3 separate regions of the Homo sapiens genome follow, and regions 1 and 2 are each linked to region 3. Evidence: promoter capture Hi-C in 16 types of primary human blood cells and fetal thymus (Javierre and others, 2016). All regions are on one chromosome and are shown on one strand. The core of a region is centred on a gene start or on the middle of the fragment in contact, and the rest is flanking DNA. Distances in the headings are between cores, read along the strand shown. Region 1 overlaps INO80 (INO80 complex ATPase subunit). Region 2 overlaps INO80 (INO80 complex ATPase subunit). Region 3 holds the start of VPS18 (VPS18 core subunit of CORVET and HOPS complexes).

Region 1 (2,844 bases), core at 213-2,712, 110 kb before region 3:
AACTGCCTTGCCTTCCCTTTCTAGTGGTTGCTCTCAGCTGCTGATATAGGCTATCAGAATAATCTTTGAAGCTTTTTCCAGCTACAGCTTTATTGATGTATGCTTGATAAATAAAAATTGTATATATTTAAGGTCGACCATGTGATATTGTCTCTCTTAGAAGAGTTCACATATACGATACAATATTATTAGCTCTAGTTACCATGATGTACATTAGATCTCCAGGATTTTTTCATTTTGCATAACTGAACCTTTGTACCCTTTGACCAACATCTCCCCATTTCCCCTACCCCCTGGCAACCACCCTTCTACTCTCTACTTTTATGAGTTTTAACTTTTTAAGCTTGCACATATAAGTTGAACCATGCAGTATTTGTCTTTCCATGTCTGGCATATTTTACTTAACAGAATCAGGTTTATTCATGTTGATTTCCTTCTTTTTAAGGCTGAATAATATTCGTGTGTGTGTGTGTGTGTGTGTGTGTGTGTATGTATATATATCACATATTCTTTATCCATTCACCTGTTTTGTTTGTTTATTTTGAGACAATCACCCTGTTGCCCAGGCTGCAGTGCTGTGGCATGATCTTGGCTCACTGCAGCCTCAAACTCCCTGGGCTCAGATGATCTTCCCACCTCAGCCTCCTGAGTAGCTGGGACTACAGGCACATACCAGCACACCCAGCTAATTTTTGTATTTTCAGTAGAGATGGGGTTTCGCCATGTTGGCCAGGCTTGTCTCGAACTCTTGATCTCAAGTGATCCACCCACCTCGACCTTCCACAGTGCTGGGATTACAGGCGTGAGCCACTTCGTCCAGCCAACCACCATACCTGGCCCCAACCTTTGTCTTTTAGGTGTTTTCCTATAGTGTGAGGATGTAGATGTCGCTCTATTCAGCCTTTTAACACATCTTTCCATGTCCATTTTCTTGTTTTTTTTTTTTTTGAAGCTATTTACTGAAATAGACTCTAAATTTACTAAAGCCTGAAGTCCCACTGCTCGTCTTAGTTCAAGAGCTAAGACTTGAAGCAGTGGAAGGGAATAATTCACTTCTGTTGCCTCAGTAACAGGCTCTCTATAATCAGGGTTGGTTTGATTATGGTCTAGGATTAATATCCCCGGGGTTGTGCTGGCCTTGATATATAAATATATAAACAGCAAAATTTACTAGAAGATTCATTCATCAATGCTTTTATGAGGCTAGAAGTTCAGTTTAAAAGGCAAATCAGGCTTGGCTCAGTGGGTCACACCTGTAATCCCAACACTTTGGGAGGCTGAGGTGGGCAGATCACCTGAGGTCAGGAGTTCAAGACCAGCCTGGCCAACATGGCGAAACCCCATCTCTACTAAAAATAGAAAAATTAGCCAGGTGTGGTGGCAGTTGCCTGTAATCCCAGCTGCTAGGGAGGCTGAGGCAGGAGAATCGCTTGAACCTGGGAGGAGGAGGTTGCAGTGAACCACGATTGTGCCACTGCACTCCAGCTTGGGTGACGAGCAAGACAGTGTCTAAAAAAAAAAAAAAAAAAAAGAAAAAAAAAAAAAGAGTGCCTGTGCAGGAAGCCTACCTTTTTGCTAAAATTATAATCTGTGTTTTGGGTGTCTCTGTAAACTGTCTTGGTATTGTCTAGTTACTTTGTTGTTCTGATTGCAACGTTCTGTGATTGGATTAGCTGCAAAAGGTATAGCAAGCCTCTAAGGACCATCATCTTGCTATCATTTTATACCTTCTTTCTTGAAGTCCTTTTTATCCAAAACGCCCCCTACCCTTCTGCCATTAGTTCAGTCCTACGATATAGCAATACCACTAAGTATGAACTTGAAGCTCACTTTATTTTATGCTTCTCTTTGATTATCACAGCTCTTAAGGAACCACTTTGAGACAGAAATGGTAAAAAATTAAAAAATCAAAATTAAACCAAATATAAAACACAATGAAGATGCATATGTCAATGAGCTTGTCTACTTTGTTGACCAGCTTCGCTTCACATGTACCCTAGCCAGAGACCTCTGCCAAGTTCTTGGCACTCACTCCATCTAAGAATAGGCTGTCACATACGCTGCACCAGATATTCCAAACTACAGCAACCTGATGTGCTAAAATGCCCCACCAAGTATAAGAGTTACATATGAAAATATTGCAGTATAAGAACATTTGACCACAGAAAACTAATTAACACAAACATTTCCCAAATGTAGAAATGATTAGTCTTTTTCAATAGAGAAGTTATTTTAGAACCGAATCAACTATTTTATGCTGTTTCTTATAAATAGGCAGCTGTGTTGAGTTTTTGATACTAGTTCTTCTACAAGTGGACTTTTTGTAGCATAATCAGAGATAACAAAAGAGGAAATAAATGTTCATTTGGACATAACTATAAGAAGAATTGCAATTTCTAAGAATGGAGAGGCAGTCTCTCTATTGTATCTTTTGGAGTCTCTTCATTCTTAAAAGTTGTAATTCCTCTTGATGATGTCAAGAACATTCTCTGCCATAGAAAATTACCTTGTCTTTTGTTTTACTCTGATGCTTAGGCCTCCCATAACAGTGATGCATGCTCTGTTGGGAGAAGGAAGCTTAGGCTGTAAATTTAAGCATTTTAATCAGTAAAGGTTTGCTCTGGGGAAACACATTCGTTTCAGTGAATGTTATTCACTGACAAAAAAAGTAGGTATTTTCATAGCTGTGAAAGATATCTGGTTGATGACTGAAAAACTATTTTGGTTTGTGGAATTTTTTTTTTTTTTTTTTTTAATGAAACCTACAGGAATTTACAGGAATAAGATTAGGTTCCAAACTGAAATTGAGAGTGATTATAATCTTCAGATTGCCCTGGATTTTCA
Region 2 (3,087 bases), core at 236-2,735, 96 kb before region 3:
TGAGCCGGGCATGGTGGCGGACGCCTGTAGTCCCTCCCAGCTACTCGGGAGGCTGAGGCAGGAGAATGGCGTGAACTCGGGAGGCGGAGCTTGCAGTGAGTCAAGATCTTGCCACTGCACTCCAGCCTGGGCGACAGAGCAAGACTCCATCTCAAAAAAAAAAAGAAAGAAATTTTCCTGTTTTAAATCTCATTCTCTCATCCCCTGAAACTCCTTCTCACTGACCTATACAGCCAGGCCCCTCTACCGCATGGTAACTCTCACCTCTCTTCCCTTGTGCCTGCCCTGCTTGGTGTTTACAATGTCATGAAGGCATTGACTACTATTTCTCCTTAGTCACTGCTGGGCCACGCTTTGTGGATTGACTTGCCTTAATCTTTCCTAGTTAAATCAGTTGTTCTAATCCTTTAATTGTTACTTGTTTTTTTCTGGAATGTCTCACTGAGCTCCATAAACCCAACTGCCAAATATAGGCATCATCCCTGTTCCACAGTGGTGCATTGTCTCCCTCACCACTCCCTCCAGTTCACATCACGGTTAATTCAGTGTTAGATTAGATGGTAACCATACATCTGCCTTGGTTTTTAGTTCTCTCACTCTTGTTCTTAACCTATTAGTTTGTACGTATTTCATATTTTCCGCTGCACAGGTATTTTTCTAAACAATCCTATTTTTTTCTGTTTTCCTCCCAAATTCCCCACCTCTTGGAATCCATGTAAAGGATAAATATCTTCCATATTTGGAGATTTTTGAAGTTAAGATTGTAAACCCATCTCCTTAGGCTTTAATCTTACTGTTCATGAGCTCAAAAGAACACAAGTTGAATCAGGTTTGGTTGCCACTGGGTCTTCTAGGAAAAAATGTAAATGTTAAGACAGTACTTATGAAACAATTCATTATATGGCTCTCCCTCCACCCACCTCCACCACCCACATCCCCACATTATGAATTCGTGCTGAACCATAGCCTCAAGCTTAGACAGCTCAAGATACTGTCTTTTGGGTGTGACATCAGCCCTCAAATTCCACATTTGTGGTCATTTTAAATACATTGGGCATCATGGGACAACATGAACCAGAAAAAAAGATGAAAAAAATACACTGGGCAAGTAATGTTATCCTCTAGTCCAACTGAAGGTCTTCACTTTTGTTAGCTCTGTTCTCCCTGAAAGTTCAAACTTGGTCTTCTAGTTCAAACTTGGTCTTCTGGAAGTTCTTATGTCCTCTTTGAAACCAAAATGTCGTGTGGTCAGGTTTGTTAAGTTCCTCTAGAGGCAACAAGCATTGTGCACTTCTAAATCTTAGGTTTGCAGGACACTAGATTAACAATAAGCATTCACGGTGACTTTCTTTCGCCAGCAGTTTACATTGTTCTTCCCAAGGATTCTAACCTGTGCTAAAAATGGAGGGAAACCATTTTGGCCAGGTGCAGTGGCTCATACCTGTAATTCCAACACTTTGGGAAGCTGAGATGGTAGGATTGCTTGAGCCCAGGAGTTTGGGGCTGCAGTGAGCCAAGATCATGCCACTGTACTTCAGCCTGGATGACAGAGCAAGACCCTGTCTCAGAAAAGAAAAAGAGAGACAGAAACAGTTTCAAGAAAGATGACTCACTCTTTCAAATAGTACACATGAAATAATTGACACCATAGAAGTTAGTGATTAAGTGGGGACTTGGACCAAGGTAGGTAGGCAATGCCAAGTTTTGTTACTACTGTAGGTTGTGGAGGGAGACTGTTAGGTCACTCCCCACCCCAGCCCCTTGCTGTGATTTCAGACCAGTCTCTTCCTTGCTTGTAAGATGGAGGATAGACATAGGATTTTTTTTTTTTTAGAATTCAGTGAGAGATATATGCATACTAGTCCTGGGCTCATAAGTACCCAACAAATTTTAGCCATTATTATTTCTAATAGGAATCCAGGGGGAATAGGGATAAGAAAAGAAAAGGAGACATTATTATAGGCAAGAGAAAACAGGGCGAGCTTCCTAGAAGCTTGAACTAAACCTGAAAGGACCAATAAAGAAGAGTTTTGGGATTCTAGTTCAGAGAAACAGCTTGAGCAATAAGAGGTGTACACAAATGTATTATAAGCCAGGACCACTGAAGAGACCCATCTGACTAAAGGGAAAGGGCATATTTGTGTTAGGAAAGAATAGAAAATAAAGTTGGCTCTCTATAGCAGGGCCTGATTATTTAGGAGAGTTTGGACATGGTGGCAGGCACCTGTGATCTCAGCTACTCAGGAGGCTGAGGCAGGTGTGTAACTGGCAGAGAGCTGGAGTGGCCCACAGTGGTAGCCAAGGTAGACTGAAGAGGAAAGAGACCGAGATCTAAGAGTCCTGCTGATGTAACAGAGTGCTAATCCAGATGTAGGTTGTGAGGGCCTGGTCTAGAATGGAAACAGTGGGATTGTTACAGTAGAAAGGACAGGTTCATTTTTGAAGCAGTGGCTGGATTTGGTGACTTTTGATTGGATATAAAGGACAACACATGAGATATGAGGGCCATTTTGAACTGGTCCGCCATGTTGGATGGTAGCCTCAAGGGTTGAGGACTGAGGAGTTTGTTTTAGGATCACTCACTTAGTGGTGATATATTTTGTTGTTAATTTGTTTGTTGCTCAGCAAACTAGAAGTCACTTCCAGAGAACCCTTTAAACATTCCATCCTGGGAATTCATGGGCTAGTAAATGACTGTTGATGAGAGCCTGAGAATTCTAGGGAAAGCCATGCCTGTTTCCAGCATAGCCCCAGTGTTTTGTTTTGTGACAGAGTTTCTCTCTTGTTGCCCAGGCTGGAGTGCAATGGCATGATCTCAGCTCACTGTACTCCCCGCCTCCTGGGTTCAAGCAATTCTCCTGCCTCAGCCTCCTGAGTAGCTGGGACCACAGGTGCCTGCCACCACACCTGGCTAATTTTTTTTTTTTTTTGAGACGGAGGCTCACTGTGTCGCCCAGGCTGGAGTGCAGTGATGCAGTGTCGGCTCACTGCAACCTCTGCCTCCCAGGTTCAAACAATTCCCCTGCCTTAGCCTCCCAGATAGCTGGGATTGCAGGCACGCACTGCCACGCCCAGCTAATTTTTGTA
Region 3 (3,081 bases), core at 216-2,715:
GATTAGCTGTGGAAGAGACAGGTGAAGGGCAAGGAGAGGCAGAAAAAACACCACAGTGCTCCTCGCCACTTTCCTGACATATTCCTATCCCCAGGACCTTGGTTAACAAATAGTTTGATATCAAGTCGTTTGCTGGTCACCTTTACAATAGAGGTCTGGAGCTCTTTCCACACTCTGACAGCAGTGAGGGGTTGATTCTTTGAACCCTTAAGATGCTGTCACAGCATGATATACCTGCTCCCACTGGTAATGGGGCTGCGTGGAGGTGGGACGGGACTGGTGGTCTGGGTATTCTCCCTTATCAGGTCTTTGGCCCAGCAATCCCAGCTTAACTGAAGTAGTATAGCCCCATTCTCTGCCCCCCTCCCTGCCCATGCGGTAATGAGCCTCAGTGTAGAGTTGGCAAGTGCTGGGATATTTTGAGCATTGAATGAAGGTAAAGACTAGAGTGAAAGCAGCTCCAATTCGTTAACTCCACTCACTGGAACAGTTCCCCAGGGCTCCCTATGCCCTCATTCTCCTGGAGACTCACTACTTTCTACAAAAACGTCCCCAAACTCCAGGCTGCACCCAGCTATAGCCAAGGCCAAAAAGATTTCATCTCCATTTTCCCCGTTCAGCGACAAAATTCCCTCTGGGACCCTCCCTTCTTCCTCTGCAATACTCCGCCTTCACCACTTTCTTTGTCCATTCCTTCCCTCCCACCTCCAGAAGGGGCCTGGTGGGAAAAGCATCAGCAGAAGCCGGGAGCCCATTCTAAGTTCTCCCAACAGCCCAACTGCGCCCTGTAGGTGAGTAATTCCTTATCTGGGCCCCAATTCCCTCTCAAAAGGACCCTAGCGGTAGAGCCTAGATCACGCGGCAGCTCCCGTTGCTCTTTCAAACTTCGACTATCCACCAGCTGGGGGCCAAGAGAGCCTGAGGAGAATCAGGGGCCTAGACCCGGAAGGCACGGCCCAGGGGATGACCCCGAGCTCTTGGAGCTGCCCTCCTCGCTGCTCCCACGCAAATGCTAGGAGAGCCGAAAGGGGCAGCGGCACCCTCCTCTTCCTTACCCGAGTGGGGGATGCCCACGCTAGGGCAGCCGGGCTGCAAGACGGCCGAGCGGGACAGCGAGTTCTCGTACTCATCCAGGATGGACGCCATGGTGCCCGGCCTCTGGGCTCTTTGTCCGGGGCCTGGGGATTACAAAAGGGCTACCCCCCCGGGGTCCCCGTCGCCCCAGAATGGAAGCTGTAACTCCCCAGCCTCTGACAGATCCTGGGAACCTGCAGCCGTCGCCTCCTCTTTAAAATCCTGAGGATCCTCTTGCTCTTGCCTTATGCAGCGAGATAATCGGGCAGCCCTCGTCCTTGAATCTGGCGCAGTCTTGCACCTTACTCCCCGCCCCCGCTACAAAAAAATCACAGGCTCCCTTCAGCCGGTGCCAGGTGATCCCAACCTCGCCCCGGCAGCTCAGCTGACTCCCGCCCCCGTGACGCGGGCCTAAAACGTAACTTCCGGGTTCTCAGAGCCCCGCGTACGCTGGCGCACAACGTCGCCGGGCCAGCCAGCAGAAGGCGAGACGAGGGCTGAGGGCTGGGCGCGTGGCGAGTGCTGCTGAACACAAGCCCCGCCCCCAGGATCCTGCTGCAGTTCCGAGCTTTGACACCAGGAGGCAATCCCGGCTTTCTCAGCCGGCCTTCCCCACCCGCCCCGCGCCGCCCAGTTTTGGCTTTCGTGCCCAAGCTCCGCTCCCTCGGGTGGTCTGTCCAGCCTCCCTGACCAGCTCCCGCTCCCGCCTCTCTAAACAGCCTCGGGGAACCTCCCGTTCCTCAATCCAATCGCTGTCTCTATCCCACCGTCACAGGGCACACGCAGACAACTCCTGGCCACTCTTCTCCCTTACCCAAAGGCCCCCCAGCTTCCAGGAGACCGCAGAGCTGGTGGCCAGGCTAGTGGGAAGCCCTGTGCCAGGAACCGCCCTGACCTGCCCCACAGTGGCTCCTTGGCTCAGGGTTGCTGGGCCGCTTCCATTCACTCATTCACCAAAATGTGGTTGAGCACTTACTCTGTGCCAGGCCTTGGGCTGGGCGCTGGGGTCACAGAGATGAGGACAGCCCCTCCCCGCCCTGGAAAAGGTCGTAAGCCAGCAGGGGCGCTGGACCCGTAAATAGACCATTCATACTAGAAAAGCAAGTGATGGATTATCCATCAGGCACTTACTCCACGAATGAGCGTCCACTCTGTGCCAAGCACTGTTCCAGGCTCTGGGGACGTGGCAGAGAACAAGACGGAAAATGTCTCTTGCCTGGTGGGGCGTACCCAGCGACGTGGCCACGGCACTGAGAGCGTGAAGGAGCAGGGAACAAATACCTGCCAAGCCTAGCAAGAACGAGGGACAAGTGGGAGCAAGCGTGAAGGCGGGGGCCGCCCAGCCTGAGGTGGAGAGGGGAGTCCTCAGCCAGGGACCTGCGAGGGCTGGGGCGCGACTGTGGTTGGGTTTTCCTCTCTCACCTGCTTAGGCGACCCAGATGGAGTCTGTTCCCTTCTGGGGCCCTTGGATTCTACCTTGCTAAAGTGGAAGGCTCTGGACTAGGGTCGCCACCGTCCTGGCTCTGCTGGGCGGCCCCCGCCTAACAACTAAGAGCATCCCTTTGCTCTCAGAAGTTTCCAGGTTTGCACCATACCTTATGTGGTTGGGTTACTCTTGCTCAACTTCCTGGCCACGTGCGGAGAACTGTGACTCTCACCAGCCCCACTGAGGGCTATCTGGGCTCTCTGGCTTGGAGGGGCACTAGTCCTGGGGCAGGTGACAAGTATGCTGTCCAGGCTCATTTCCCTTCGCACCAGGGTCCTGCTTCTCTTGACCAAGCCTGCAGCCTCAATGCAGCCTTCCCACCTGAGGTTGCCAGGTCCCAGGAGGGAAGTGCAGGAGCAGGACAATAGGCAGGAGGCTTCCTCTAAGAAAAGTGATCCCAGACAGGGAGCTGCCCTGCTCCATACATAACACTTCACCCCCAGGTCACCTGCCATCTGCCCTCAGGTCTGGACTGTGCAGAGGGTTGTCCCTGCTGCACAGAGCCCATTAGCAGTTGGAGG

Evidence for each region. Contacts are between HindIII fragments. The CHiCAGO score rates a contact against its expected background, and 5 or more counts as called.
Region 1: a fragment that was not itself captured here is called in contact with the fragment with the promoter of VPS18 in region 3 in 12 of 17 cell types (megakaryocytes, monocytes, erythroblasts and 9 more); the score reaches 11.0 in megakaryocytes.
Region 2: a fragment that was not itself captured here is called in contact with the fragment with the promoter of VPS18 in region 3 in 4 of 17 cell types (M1 macrophages, M2 macrophages, M0 macrophages and 1 more); the score reaches 7.3 in M1 macrophages.

The regions. Positions count from the first base shown.
Region 1 is chr15:41,005,870-41,008,713 of GRCh38, reverse strand. All of the region lies in intron 27 of INO80 (INO80 complex ATPase subunit), which reads left to right. Among named protein-coding and RNA genes, the nearest start is that of INO80-AS1, 9.5 kb to the left of the region's middle. The HindIII fragment of the contact is 2,234 bases long and covers 346-2,579 here.
Region 2 is chr15:40,988,858-40,991,944 of GRCh38, reverse strand. The region is part of intron 29 of INO80 (INO80 complex ATPase subunit); the gene reads left to right. Among named protein-coding and RNA genes, the nearest start is that of INO80-AS1, 26 kb to the left of the region's middle. The HindIII fragment of the contact is 1,020 bases long and covers 976-1,995 here.
Region 3 is chr15:40,892,834-40,895,914 of GRCh38, reverse strand. It overlaps VPS18 (VPS18 core subunit of CORVET and HOPS complexes), which reads right to left and starts at 1,465. Exons shown (of 5, transcript NM_020857.3): 1 at 1,056-1,465. The coding sequence starts at 1,146. RefSeq lists an enhancer at 650-739 and a silencer at 1,580-1,749. The HindIII fragment of the contact is 16,460 bases long and covers 1-3,081 here.